4 separate regions of the Homo sapiens genome follow, and regions 1, 3 and 4 are each linked to region 2. The links are contacts of gene promoters, found by promoter capture Hi-C in human tissues and cell types (Jung and others, 2019). All regions are on one chromosome and are shown on one strand. Each heading gives the region's core, a stretch centred on a gene start or on the middle of the fragment in contact. The rest is flanking DNA. Distances are from core to core; before and after follow the strand shown. Region 1 has its middle 13 kb from the start of ZNF816-ZNF321P. Region 2 holds the start of ZNF347 (zinc finger protein 347). Region 3 overlaps LOC124904758 (a long non-coding RNA gene). Region 4 overlaps ZNF765-ZNF761 (ZNF765-ZNF761 readthrough).

Region 1 (2,844 bases), core at 4-2,503, 180 kb after region 2:
TCCTGCTCAGCTCCCTCATCACGATGAAGACCATTCCAAGGTCAAATAGGACCCTGGCACACATGAGACCCCAGAGAAGACATACTAGTATCACTCAGTCATTCTCATTCATTCACTGACTCAGTAGCTATGGAGCCTGTGCTATAAGCCAGGGGGCACAAATAGAGGAGCTGTCTGTACCAGGGATCAAAATGGTAAACCAGCAGACTATCCTTCCCTGCTTTCTCCAGGTTATTTTTCAGTTTTATGCTGTGTTGTTGAAGTTGGTCTTGATCTCCTGGGCTCAAGAGGTCCTCTTTGGCCTCCTGAGTAGCTGGGATTATAGGCCCCAACCCCCATACCTAATTATTGGTTTTTATTTTTTAAATTTTAGCGTATGTGTGTCCTTAGGGCTAATATGAGTCTTCTGTGGACAACATGTAGTTGGTTCCTGTTGATTCAGCCAGTCTTTGCCTCCTGAATGCAGAGTTAAATATTTACATTTTAATAATTACTGATGGAGAAGACCTTACCGTTGCGTTTTTGTTACATATTATCTGTATTTCTTGTAGGTTTTTATTGTTGTTCTTCATTTCTCATTTCCTACTTTTTGTGTTTAATTACTTTTTTTCTGTAGACATGCTTTGACTCTCTTCTTATTTACTTTTTTTTGTGGTGAAGTCTCACTCTGTCACTCGGGCTACAGTGCAGTGGTGCGATCTTTCTAACCGTAGCCTCCACCTCCCGGGCTCAAACGATTCTTGTGTCCCAGCTTCTGAGTAGCTGTGACTACAGGCGCTCACCACCACGCCCAGCTAATTTTTGTGTTTTTAGTAGAGACGGGGTTTCATCACATTAGCCAGGATGTTCTCGAACTCCTGATCTCAAGTGATCCACCTGTCTCGGTTTCCCAAAGTACTGGCATTACAGGCGTGAGCCACCGTGCCCAGCCATTATTATTATTTTAAATAGTTTTGTCTTTTAGTTTTTAGTAAACATATAAGTGGCTTAAGCATGATTCCAATGTGAACATAACAACCACGTTAGTGTCCATTCCTTTCAATATGAAGAACCGAAGTGTGTTGTATAGATATTTAGGGGGAGGTTATTGTTGAAGGTGTGTTAAACATCTTGAAGTTATAGCATAATAACAAAACTTGAAATTTCCATTACCTGGCCAGGTGCAGTGGCTCACCCCTGTAATCTCAGCACATTGGGAGGCCAAGGTGGGCAAATCACCTGAAGTCAGGAGTTCAACACCAGCCTGGCTAACATGGCAAAACTCTGTCTCTACTGAAAATTCGAAGTGCAGTGGGCACCTGTAATCCCAGCTACTCAAGAGGCTGAAATCTTTGAATTCAAGAGGCAAAGATTGCAGGAGCCGAAACGGCACCATTACACTCCAGCCTGGGCGACAGAGCAAGACTCCGTCTCAAAAAAACAAAGAAAGAAACAAACAAAAATTTCCATAACCTGCAAAGACTACTTTCTCCACTAGAACTCTTTGTTATTTATGTCAGAATTATTTCTGTATATGTTGCATTTTCATTAACATATATGTACAGTGTTTTTTTTGTGCTTTTTTCTGCTAAATAATTGGAAAAAAAAGTTGAGTTATAAAGAAAAGATACACTTATACAGGTTTCTGTATCTGTCTATTTACTTACTTATTTATTTATTTATTTATTTATTTATTTCTGAGACAAAGTTTTGCTCCTGTCGCCCAGGCTGAAGTGCAATGACACAATCTCAGCTCACTGCAACCTCCGCCTCCCAGTTTCAAGTGATTCTTTTGCCACAGCCCCCCGAGTAGCTGGGATTACAGGCATGCACCATCATGCCCGGCTAATTTTGTATTTTTAGTAGAAACAAGGTTTCTCCTTGTTGGTCAAGCTGGTCTCGAACTCCCAAACTCAGGTGATCCACCTGCCTTGGCCTGCCAAAGTGCTGAGATTACGGGTGTGAACCAACTTTGATGGATGCGCGGCAACATAAGCTTATGTACAAGGCATTTGAGATTGAGGAATGGAAAATTACTGAGGCACTGTGTGTATGTTGTTTGTGTATGAGACTGTCACTCCTTGACCCTGAAATCAGGACAAGGAGTAGAATGTGTGATAAGAAACGCTGAAACAGTCTCCTGTGAATGTGGTCTGAGTGCTTTTACAAGGCCATAGTGCCTCACGACCCGACTGCAAAGAGCTCCATGGTGTATGTTTTTTGTTTGTCTGAAGTGTAGTTTAAACAAGCCCTTTTTTTTTTTTTTTTTTTTTTGAGACGGAGTCTCGCTCTGTCGCCCAGGCTGGAGTGCAGTGGTGCGATCTCGGCTCACTGCAAGCTCTGCCTCCCGGGTTCACACCATTCTCCTGCCTCAGCCTCCTGAGTAGCTGTGACTTCAGGCGCCCGCCACCACGCCCGGCTAATTTTTTTGTATTTTTAGTAGAGACGGGGTCTCACTGTGTTATCCAGGATGGTCTCGATCTCCTGACCTCGTGATCCGCCCGCCTCGGCCTCCCAAAGTGCTGGGATTACAGGCGTGAGCCACCGCGACCGGTCTAAACAAGCCCTTTCAATAAATACTTGGAGGACGGATTCTGGGGCAGCACTCTCTCAGAAGGTTTGCTCCCCGCCCCACTCAGCTGGAATTATCTGAGTACTTCATTCTTGGCGTTCACTGCAAGCTATAAGCTGCACCACTGCACTTGGCCTATCTGTCCTTTTATTTACCTTCACTGGAGAACTTTATATATATTTGTGGGTTGGAGTTACTCTTTAGCCTTCTTTCATTTCTTTTTCTTTCTTTCTTTCTTTCTTTTTTTTATTTCAAGATGGAGTCTCGGTCTGTCGCCCAGCCTGGAGCGTAGT
Region 2 (2,700 bases), core at 132-2,631:
AAACGTTTAATATTTTGTTAAAGTGAAAACTATACGGTGTATATAAATAAGGGTGTTGTTTGGAGATAAAATTGTGTGACATGAAAATGTACATAAGACAATAGCAGGTATAAACTAGGTTCTCTATAAACATGAAAAAAGGGTATCCCTGTGAGTCTTTAGTTCAGTCAATGTACTGGGATGGTACGTTAGAAATACTGGAAAACTATTCTTTAGGCGAAAATAAATCCAATTGTCATGTGGTGACTATTTTCCACACTCTGTTATCCACATCTGATAGAACATTAAGAAACAGAAAACAAAAAAATAGACCCAATATAGATTACAATTTTAAAATAAAAAGTACTGTGTCAAGTTCCCTTCAGAATGCCCATAAAGTGAATTTGAAATTACATGATATTTAGAAATTATTGATTTAAGCATATTTTGATGCAAAGAAAGATTATGTCAAAGTTGTTTGTGGTTAAGTCATTTCAAGTGTGGAACGGAATAACGAATATAAGCAAAAATAATGCAGTTTATCTCTATTTTTTAAAAATTCACATGGTTTAAATCAGTAGTTGACTGGGCACAGTAGTTCACTCCTGTAATCCCAGCAATTTTGGAGGCCCAGGCAGGAGGATTGCTTGAGGTCAAGAGTTGGAGACCAGCCTGGGCCGAGACTCCCATCTTTACAAAAATATATGTTTTAAAGAACAATAAAGCAGCCCTTGGTGATCTAACTTATCGGCCTTAACCTTCCCATGAATTGAGCACAGGCTTGACTCTTCCACTGGGGAGAATGGGGATTTGAAATGTAAAGGAGGTTCTGTTGGGCTACTGCATTAAATTGCATATCCGTCCAGGTAGGATGCTGCATTTCCCATTCTACTTTGAATCATCCTCAGAGATAATTTCCAGACATTTTAGTTAAATTAAATACATTTTAATTGCAGGAATTGCTGGATCCAATCGCCGTGCCTCGTGGATCCTCCACTAAGATCCCAGTTCCCAGACCGAGATCCCCGATTCCCAGATCCCCGTTCCTGAGCTGCAGCAGACTCCCTAGCAGGACTGGGTCCAACCCGCCGGCAAACAATTTTAACATAAACCGTTTTCAACTTGGTAAGAGGAAATCATTTTGGTTTCTATCATAAGTGGTCCACGTAAGTCTATTCTTTCACCTTAAAACTGCTTCAAATTGGAACGGTGCTCCCGGGGACATAGTGAACACTCCAGCGTTTCTAAACCGGGAAAAATGAGACTGCGGGCTAGGCAGGCTGAGGGAAGCGCAGACCCCGCCCCAGCTCCGCCCCAGCGTTTCGTCCGCAGACCCCGCCTCTCCCCAGGCCCCGCCCCCAGAGTGCCCGGGCTCTTTTCCGCGCACGCGCAGTTTTCTGCAGTTCCGGAAGCGGATCGTGTTGGGTGCGGGTGACGCCGCCGAGCGTGAGTGTCCCTCAGTATGGATTAAACTTGCGAACCGCCGTGCCCCGTTTCCGCAGCCAGTTCCCGGGCTCGCTACAGACCTTTTTTTTTTTCTTTTTTTTTTTTTTTGGTGAGACGGAGATTTACTCTTGTTGTCCAGGCTGGAGTGCAATGGCGCGATTTCGGCTCACCGCATCCTCCGCCTCCCAGGTTCAAGCGATTCTCCTGCCTCAGCCTCCCGAGTAGCTGGGATTACAGGCATGTGCCACCACGCCCGGCTAATTTTGTATTTTTAGTAGAGACGGGGTTTCACCGTGTTGCCCAGGCTGATCTCGAACTCCTGACCTCAGGTAATCCGCCCGCCTCGGCCTCCCAAAGTGCTGGGGTTACAAGCGTGAGCCACTGCGCCCGGCAGCTACAGACCTTAAGATCCCCGCACCGCGCCCTCCACCCCAGCTGACTCGCGGTGTGGGTTCGGAGTCGCTTCTCTTTGGGTTGAAGTAGCTCTGAGGCTTCTCCCTGTCCCCGGCCTTTCGCGTCTTCCTCCCGCTTAAAACCCTTTCCTGACCCCTCCTCCCGCCCCGGGCTTTTTAAAGTCCTCGCCCGCGAGGTGGATTCCCGCCCTGGGTGCCTCCCAGCCTCGCCCTCGTCGGCCCCTGGAGCGCAGCTCCTCAGCCCCGGTACCGGCGAGGCCGCGTCCTCTGCCTGGTCCTGGCATCCTGCAGACCCCACCCCTCTTCTAAGGCGCCGTCGCCCCGCCACCTCCCTCCTCCTCGTGCCGGGCCCTGCTGCTCCCCAGGCCTCCCCTTCGCAGTCCCCGCTTCTCCTGAGCCCGCGCTGGGGAGGTGCCCGGGGCCTGTCCTGTGACACCCGGTGTTCTTGCCTGCCCAGCTCCAGCCCCTGGAAAATGCGCTCCTCCAAGATGCAGGCGTCTTAGTCCAAACCTTCCTGTGAATGTGTGGACCAAGGGGATTAGCAGGTAGAGAAAGGGGCAGAGACAGAGAGAGAAGTAGAAAAACTGAGAGGAAAGAGTGAGGGAAACCCGTAACCAGATGGCAAAGTAGAGGATGGGCGAGGGATTTGCAGATGGTAAGAGAAGGAGCTGAGAAGGCAGAAGGAGAAAAGCAACTGGGGAAATGTAGAGAAAAGCTCGATGTCCAGAGACATGAAGGACAGCAAGGTAGGGAGAGGGCCAGAAAGTGGGAGGCTCCTCAGACAGAGTCCGGGAGAGGAGGAGGGATTTGGAGCCAGGGCAGACAAGCAGCGTGGTGCTGGGACAGCAAGAGGGGACAGCCG
Region 3 (2,706 bases), core at 96-2,595, 150 kb after region 2:
TTGCTGTCAGTGGGCAGCATCTTTAAGGAGACTCTCAGTGAGTTGCATTTCTTTTTTCTTTTTTCTTTTCTTTTTTTTTTTTTTTTGAGACAGAGTCTCGCTCTGTCACCCAGGCTGGAGTGCAGTGGCCCGATCTCGGCTCATTGCAAGCTCCGCCTCCCGGGTTCACGCCATTCTCCTGCCTCAGCCTCCTGAGTAGCTGGGACTACATGCGCCCACCACCAGGCCAGCTAAGTTTTTGTATTTTTAGTAGAGATGGAGTTTCACTGTGTTAGCCAGGATGGTCTTGATCTCCTGACCTCGTGATCCACCTGTCTCGGCCTCCCAAAGTGCTGGGATTACAGGCATGAGCCACTGTGCCTGGCCAGTGAGTTGCATTTCTAAATATTCCTTTCCAAAGTGTCAGAGACATTTGAACCAGAGCAATTCCATCTGGAATAGGGGCTGGAGAAAATAAGCCTGAGACCTGCTGGGTTACATTCCCAGTAAGTGAAGGCATTCTTAGTCATAGGATGAAACAGGAGGCTGCTCTGACTATGGAGTAGCCATACTTTATTCCTTTACTCTCTTAATAAACTTGCTTTCACTTTACTGTATGGATTCACCTTGAATTCTTCCTTGCGTGAGATCCAAGAACCCTCTCTTAGGTTCTGGATCAGGACCCCTTGCGGGTGACACAGAATCTCCTTACCTGCTCATGCCTCGCTATCTGCCTCCTGCAATACTTTCACCTGGTTTGTGGATAGAAAAACTTAATTACACCGAGTTCATCCACTTCTGTATGTTCTCTCTGTATAACCAATCTGAATGTAAATTCACCTTAAGCTTTTTCCCCCAGGTCACAGAAAAAAACAGAATTTTCACCTTCGTTGAGTTTATTCTCATCAACTTATTTCTCTGATAGAGAGAAAACTTCTATTAAGTGTCTTCATCAGGGCTCCACTGGTATAAAAAGGGATGTCAAGAAAATTTAGATGAATTTGAGATGTGACATGAATCTGACATATAAATTAGTGCTAGTATTTTCTTTTCTTTTTTCTTTTTTTTTGGGGGGGCGGTGGGGAGGGAGTCTCACTCTGTCACCCAGGCTGGAGTGTAGTGGTGCAATCTCGGCACACCGTAACCTCTGCCTCCCAGGTTCAAGGGATTCTCCTGCCTTAGCCTCCCAAGTAGCTGGGATTATGGGCGCCCGCCAGCATGCCCAGATAATTTTTTTTTTAATTTTTAGTAGAGATGGGTTTCACCATGTTGGCCAGGCTGGTCTCAAACTCCGGACCTCAGGTGATTTACCCACCTCAGCCTCCCAAAGTGCTCCCAAAGGTGTGAGCCACCATGCCCGGCCTCTTTTTTCCGCTTTCGTTGCCCAAGCTGGCATGCAGTGGCGCCATCTCGGCTCACTGCAACCTCCACCTCCTGGGTTCAAGCGATTCTTCTGCCTCAACCTCCCGAGTAACTGGGATTACAGGCATGCACCACTGTGCTTGGCTAATTTTGTATTTTTAGTAGAGATGGGGTTTCTCCATGTTGGTCAGGCTGGTCTCAAACTCCCCACCTCAGGTGATCCACCCGCCTTAGCCTCCCAAAGTGCTGGGATTACAGGCGTAAGCCACTGCACCCGACCTAAGTGCTTGTATTTTCTTTCTTTCTTTTTTTTTTTCCCACATTTAGTTCTTTTATTTAATTTTCTAGTGGACAATTTACATATCTCCCTCACCCTGTCTTTTAAGTTAGTGTGACAATTTTCCATAATAAACTACTTAAAGGGAAGCTTTGGTCAAGAATGGAATGAAATCGCAAAAAAAATAAAAAAATAAAAAAAAAAATACTGCTTTAAAAAAACCAGCATTTTCACCAATTTTATATTCAAACAAAACCACACAGCATTGGCCTGCTATGTGTTTTCAGTGTTTCCTTGGGTCTAGCTTCCTCGCCATCGTGCCACGGCACAGCTGCGGTTGGCCACAGTTTGTCATGCTAGATGGCGAAGGCTCACTCAGCTTCACATTATGTGGAGGACCTGGATGGAAGACTCGAGGGTCTTGAAATCCCAAATTGTCATGGCTCCATCAATGCCAGTAGTGCAAAATTTGCGACAACCTTGCTTGTCTACCTCATAAATAGAGACGTGAGTGATGCTATTCTGGTGCAGCCTCTCCAAGGCCATGTTGTGGTCCTCAATCGTGGCCCTCGTGTCCATGTTGCGGAAGTGTTCTATGGCAGACATGTTGCGTTGGATGCTCTGTTTTGGAATGTCTAACTTGGAGACGAAGGTCAGGCAGCCGCGGTCATCATAATTAAAGAGCATTGGGTAGCAGTCATGGCCAGCAGCCACGACACTGTTCTCTGAGACAAATGACACACTCAGGAGTGGTAGGAACTCTGTCTTCAGAATTGAGACCTGCACACTTTTTGAGGCATCAGCAACAGATAACGGTGCTGTCGTGGCTGACCCAGGCCAGGCGGCTCCCACTGGCAGAGAAGCTTACCCCGTGGACCCAGCCACCGGTGCCACTGCCACCAAACTCTGACATCAGCTGCCCAAAAGGCATCTTGGTGCCCCAGGGCATGCTGGCTGGCTTTTCATCCACTTCTTTAATGTAAGCAGAAAACACTCTGCATTTGAAGTCACATGATCCTGCTGCCAGCAAAACATTGTTGGGATGCCAATCCAAGCTGAGGACTGTGGAGCGAATCGGCTTTTTAATA
Region 4 (2,700 bases), core at 1-2,500, 250 kb before region 2:
AACCCAATGTGATTTAGATTCAACACGGTACCCATAAAAATCCTTATCACTGGGGCTGGGCGCAGTGGCTCACGCCTGTAATCCCAGCACTTTGGGAGGCCGAGGTGGGTGGATCATCTGAGGCTGGGAGTTCAAGACCAGCCTAACCAACATGGAGAAACCCCATCTCTACTAAAAATACAAAATTAGCTGGGCGTGGTGGCTCATGCCTGTAATCCTAGCTACTCTGGAGGCTGAGGCAGGAGAATTGCTTGAACCTGGGAGGCGGAGGTTGTAGTGAGCTGGGATCGCTCCATTGCAGTCCAGCCTGGGCAACAAGAGTGAAACTCCATCTCAAAAAAAAAAAAAAAAATCCCTATCAGTTTTTGTTAAAGAAACAAAAAACAGGCTGGGAAAATGGCTCACGTCTGTTGGCCAGGCTGACCTCAAACTCCTGAACTCAAGTGATCTACCGGTGCTGGCCTCCCAAAGCGCTCAGATTACAGGTGTGAGCCACTGTGCCTGGCCCAGTCCTCTTAACATAAACACTTTAATGTCAATTAAGGCTTCAACTCAATGTTAAGTCAAACTCAAGTCAATGCTGAACTGACTCTAGTGTCAATTAATGCTTGATGGTTTGCTATACACATTGTATTTGGAACAACTATCTCCAAAATGAATTTTCTGATATCCTGCAAGGAGTGAGCTCAGACTGAAGACTTTGGCACACTGATGACATTTATAAGATTTCTGTCCAGTATGCATTCTCTGATGTCTAGTGAGGTGTGAATGTGAATTAAAGGCTTTGCCGCAATCATCACACTTGTGAGGTTTCTCTCCTGTATGAATTCTCCTATGTTTTGCATAGAATGAAGCTTGACTGAGACCTTGTCACAATCATGACATTTGTAAGGTTTCTCTCCAGTACGAGTTCGCCGATGAACTGCAAGTTATGAACAATGTCTGAAAAATTTGCCAAATTTATTAAACTAGTATGATCTCTCTTCATTATGGATTCTCCAATGATTCGCAATGGTTGTAGTGTAACTGAAGACTTTGTGACAATCATTACATAAGTAAAGTTTCCCTACACCATGGATTGCCTGATGGTAAACAAGTGTTGACTGCCCACTAAAGACCTGTCACATTCATTATACTTGTAAGCTTTCTCTCCAATGTGAATTCTAGGATGTTGTGCCAGGTGCGAATTATGCCTGAAAGCCTTGTCACAAACTCTTACATTTTTATGCTATCTCTCCAGTAGGAATTCTCCTGTGTCTTTCAAGGTTTGAGTGTGACTGAAAACTTGGTGACATTCTTCACATATGTAAGCTTTCTCTCCAGTATGAATTCTCCTGTCTTTGGAGGCTTGATTTGCGACTGTAAACTTTGTCACATGCTTCACATTTGTAACGTTTATCTCCAGTATGAATTCTATGATGATGTGCAAGCTTTGCTTTTTGATTTAAAACCTTGCCACGTTCATTACACTGCTAAGGTTTCTCTCTAGTATGAATTCTATGACTATCAAGGTTTGATTTGAATCTGAAAGCTTCATCACATTCTTCACATTTGTAAGGTTTCTAATACGACTTCACCCATGAACTGCAAAGGTATGAAGGATGTCTGAAAAATTTTCTGCATTTATTCTGCATTTATCACACTTGTAGGATCTCTCTTCATTATGGATTCTCCAATGATTTGCAATAGTTGTAGCATTACTCAAGACTTGGTGACAATCATTACATTTGTAAAATGCTGACTGCCCATGAAAGGTTTTTCTACACTCATTATCCTTGTAAGGTACCTCTCCAGTATGAAGTCTACGATGGTGCGTAAGGTATGACTTCAGACTAAAGGTCTTGCCACACTCACTACACTTTTAAGGTATCTCTCCAGTATGAAGTCTATGATGGCATGTAAGGTATGAGTTCTGACTAAAGGTCTTGCCACACTCATTACATTTGTAAGGTATCCTCCAGTATGAAGTCTACGATGGCGTGTAAGGTATGAGTTCTGACTAAAGGTCTTGCCACACTCATTACACTTGTATGGTTTCTCTCCAGTATGAATTCTCCTTTGTCTTTCAAGGTTTGATTTGAAATGGAAAACTCAAATTCTTCACATTTGTAAGGTTTCTCTCCAGTACGAAGTCTACAATGGCATGTAAGGGATGAGGTCTGGCTGAAGGTCTTGCCACACTCATTACACCTGTAAGGTTTCTCACCAGTGTGAATTCTCCTATGTCTTTCAAGGTTGGATTTGAAACAGAAAGCTTCTTCACATTCTTCACATTTGTAAGGTCTCTCCACTATGAAGTTTATGATGGTACACAAAAGATGACGTATGACTCAAGGTCTTGCCACACTCATTACACTTGTAAGATTCTCTTCAGTACGAATTTTCTGATGTATTTCAAGGTTTGATTTGAAATTGTAAGCTTTGTCAAGTTCTTCATATTTGTAAGGTTTCTCTCCACTATGAAGCCTACGATGGCATGTAAGGGTTAACTCCTGATTGAAGGTCTTACCACACTCATTACACGTGTAGTTTCTCTCCAGTATAAATTCTCCTATGTCTTTCAAGGTTTGATTTGAAACTGAAAGCTTCATCACAATCTTCACATTTGTAAGGTTTCTGTCCAGTATGAAGTCTATGATGGTATGTAAGGGATGACGTCCGGCTGAAGGTCTTGCCACACTCATTACACTTGTAAGGATT

The links. The method cuts DNA at HindIII sites, captures the fragments that hold promoters and counts their contacts. A contact is called where the count stands out against the background at its distance.
Region 1: a fragment that was not itself captured here is called in contact with the fragment with the promoter of ZNF347 in region 2 in 1 of the 25 tissues and cell types used here (adrenal gland).
Region 3: a fragment that was not itself captured here is called in contact with the fragment with the promoter of ZNF347 in region 2 in 1 of the 25 tissues and cell types used here (pancreas).
Region 4: a contact is called between a fragment that was not itself captured here and the fragment with the promoter of ZNF347 in region 2, in 7 of the 25 tissues and cell types used here (aorta, bladder, dorsolateral prefrontal cortex and 4 more).

The regions. Positions count from the first base shown.
Region 1 is chr19:52,974,117-52,976,960 of GRCh38, reverse strand. It overlaps the pseudogene ZNF702P. Among named protein-coding and RNA genes, the nearest start is that of ZNF816-ZNF321P, 13 kb to the right of the region's middle. The HindIII fragment of the contact is 7,849 bases long and covers 1-2,844 here.
Region 2 is chr19:53,157,734-53,160,433 of GRCh38, reverse strand. It overlaps ZNF347 (zinc finger protein 347), which reads left to right and starts at 1,381. Exons shown (of 5, transcript NM_032584.3): 1 at 1,381-1,425. RefSeq lists a silencer at 1,199-1,448 and an enhancer at 1,184-1,478. The HindIII fragment of the contact is 7,458 bases long and covers 1-2,700 here.
Region 3 is chr19:53,004,445-53,007,150 of GRCh38, reverse strand. LOC124904758 (a long non-coding RNA gene) reads left to right here. Exons shown (of 2, transcript XR_007067327.1): 2 at 1-591. It also overlaps the pseudogene ARPC1AP2. Among named protein-coding and RNA genes, the nearest start is that of ERVV-1, 8.1 kb to the left of the region's middle. The HindIII fragment of the contact is 4,230 bases long and covers 1-2,706 here.
Region 4 is chr19:53,408,945-53,411,644 of GRCh38, reverse strand. All of the region lies in intron 3 of ZNF765-ZNF761 (ZNF765-ZNF761 readthrough), which reads right to left. ZNF765 (zinc finger protein 765) reads right to left here. Exons shown (of 4, transcript NM_001040185.3): 4 at 1-2,700. The coding sequence ends at 2,518. It also overlaps the pseudogene LOC124904793. Among named protein-coding and RNA genes, the nearest start is that of ZNF765-ZNF761, 15 kb to the right of the region's middle. The HindIII fragment of the contact is 3,821 bases long and covers 1-2,700 here.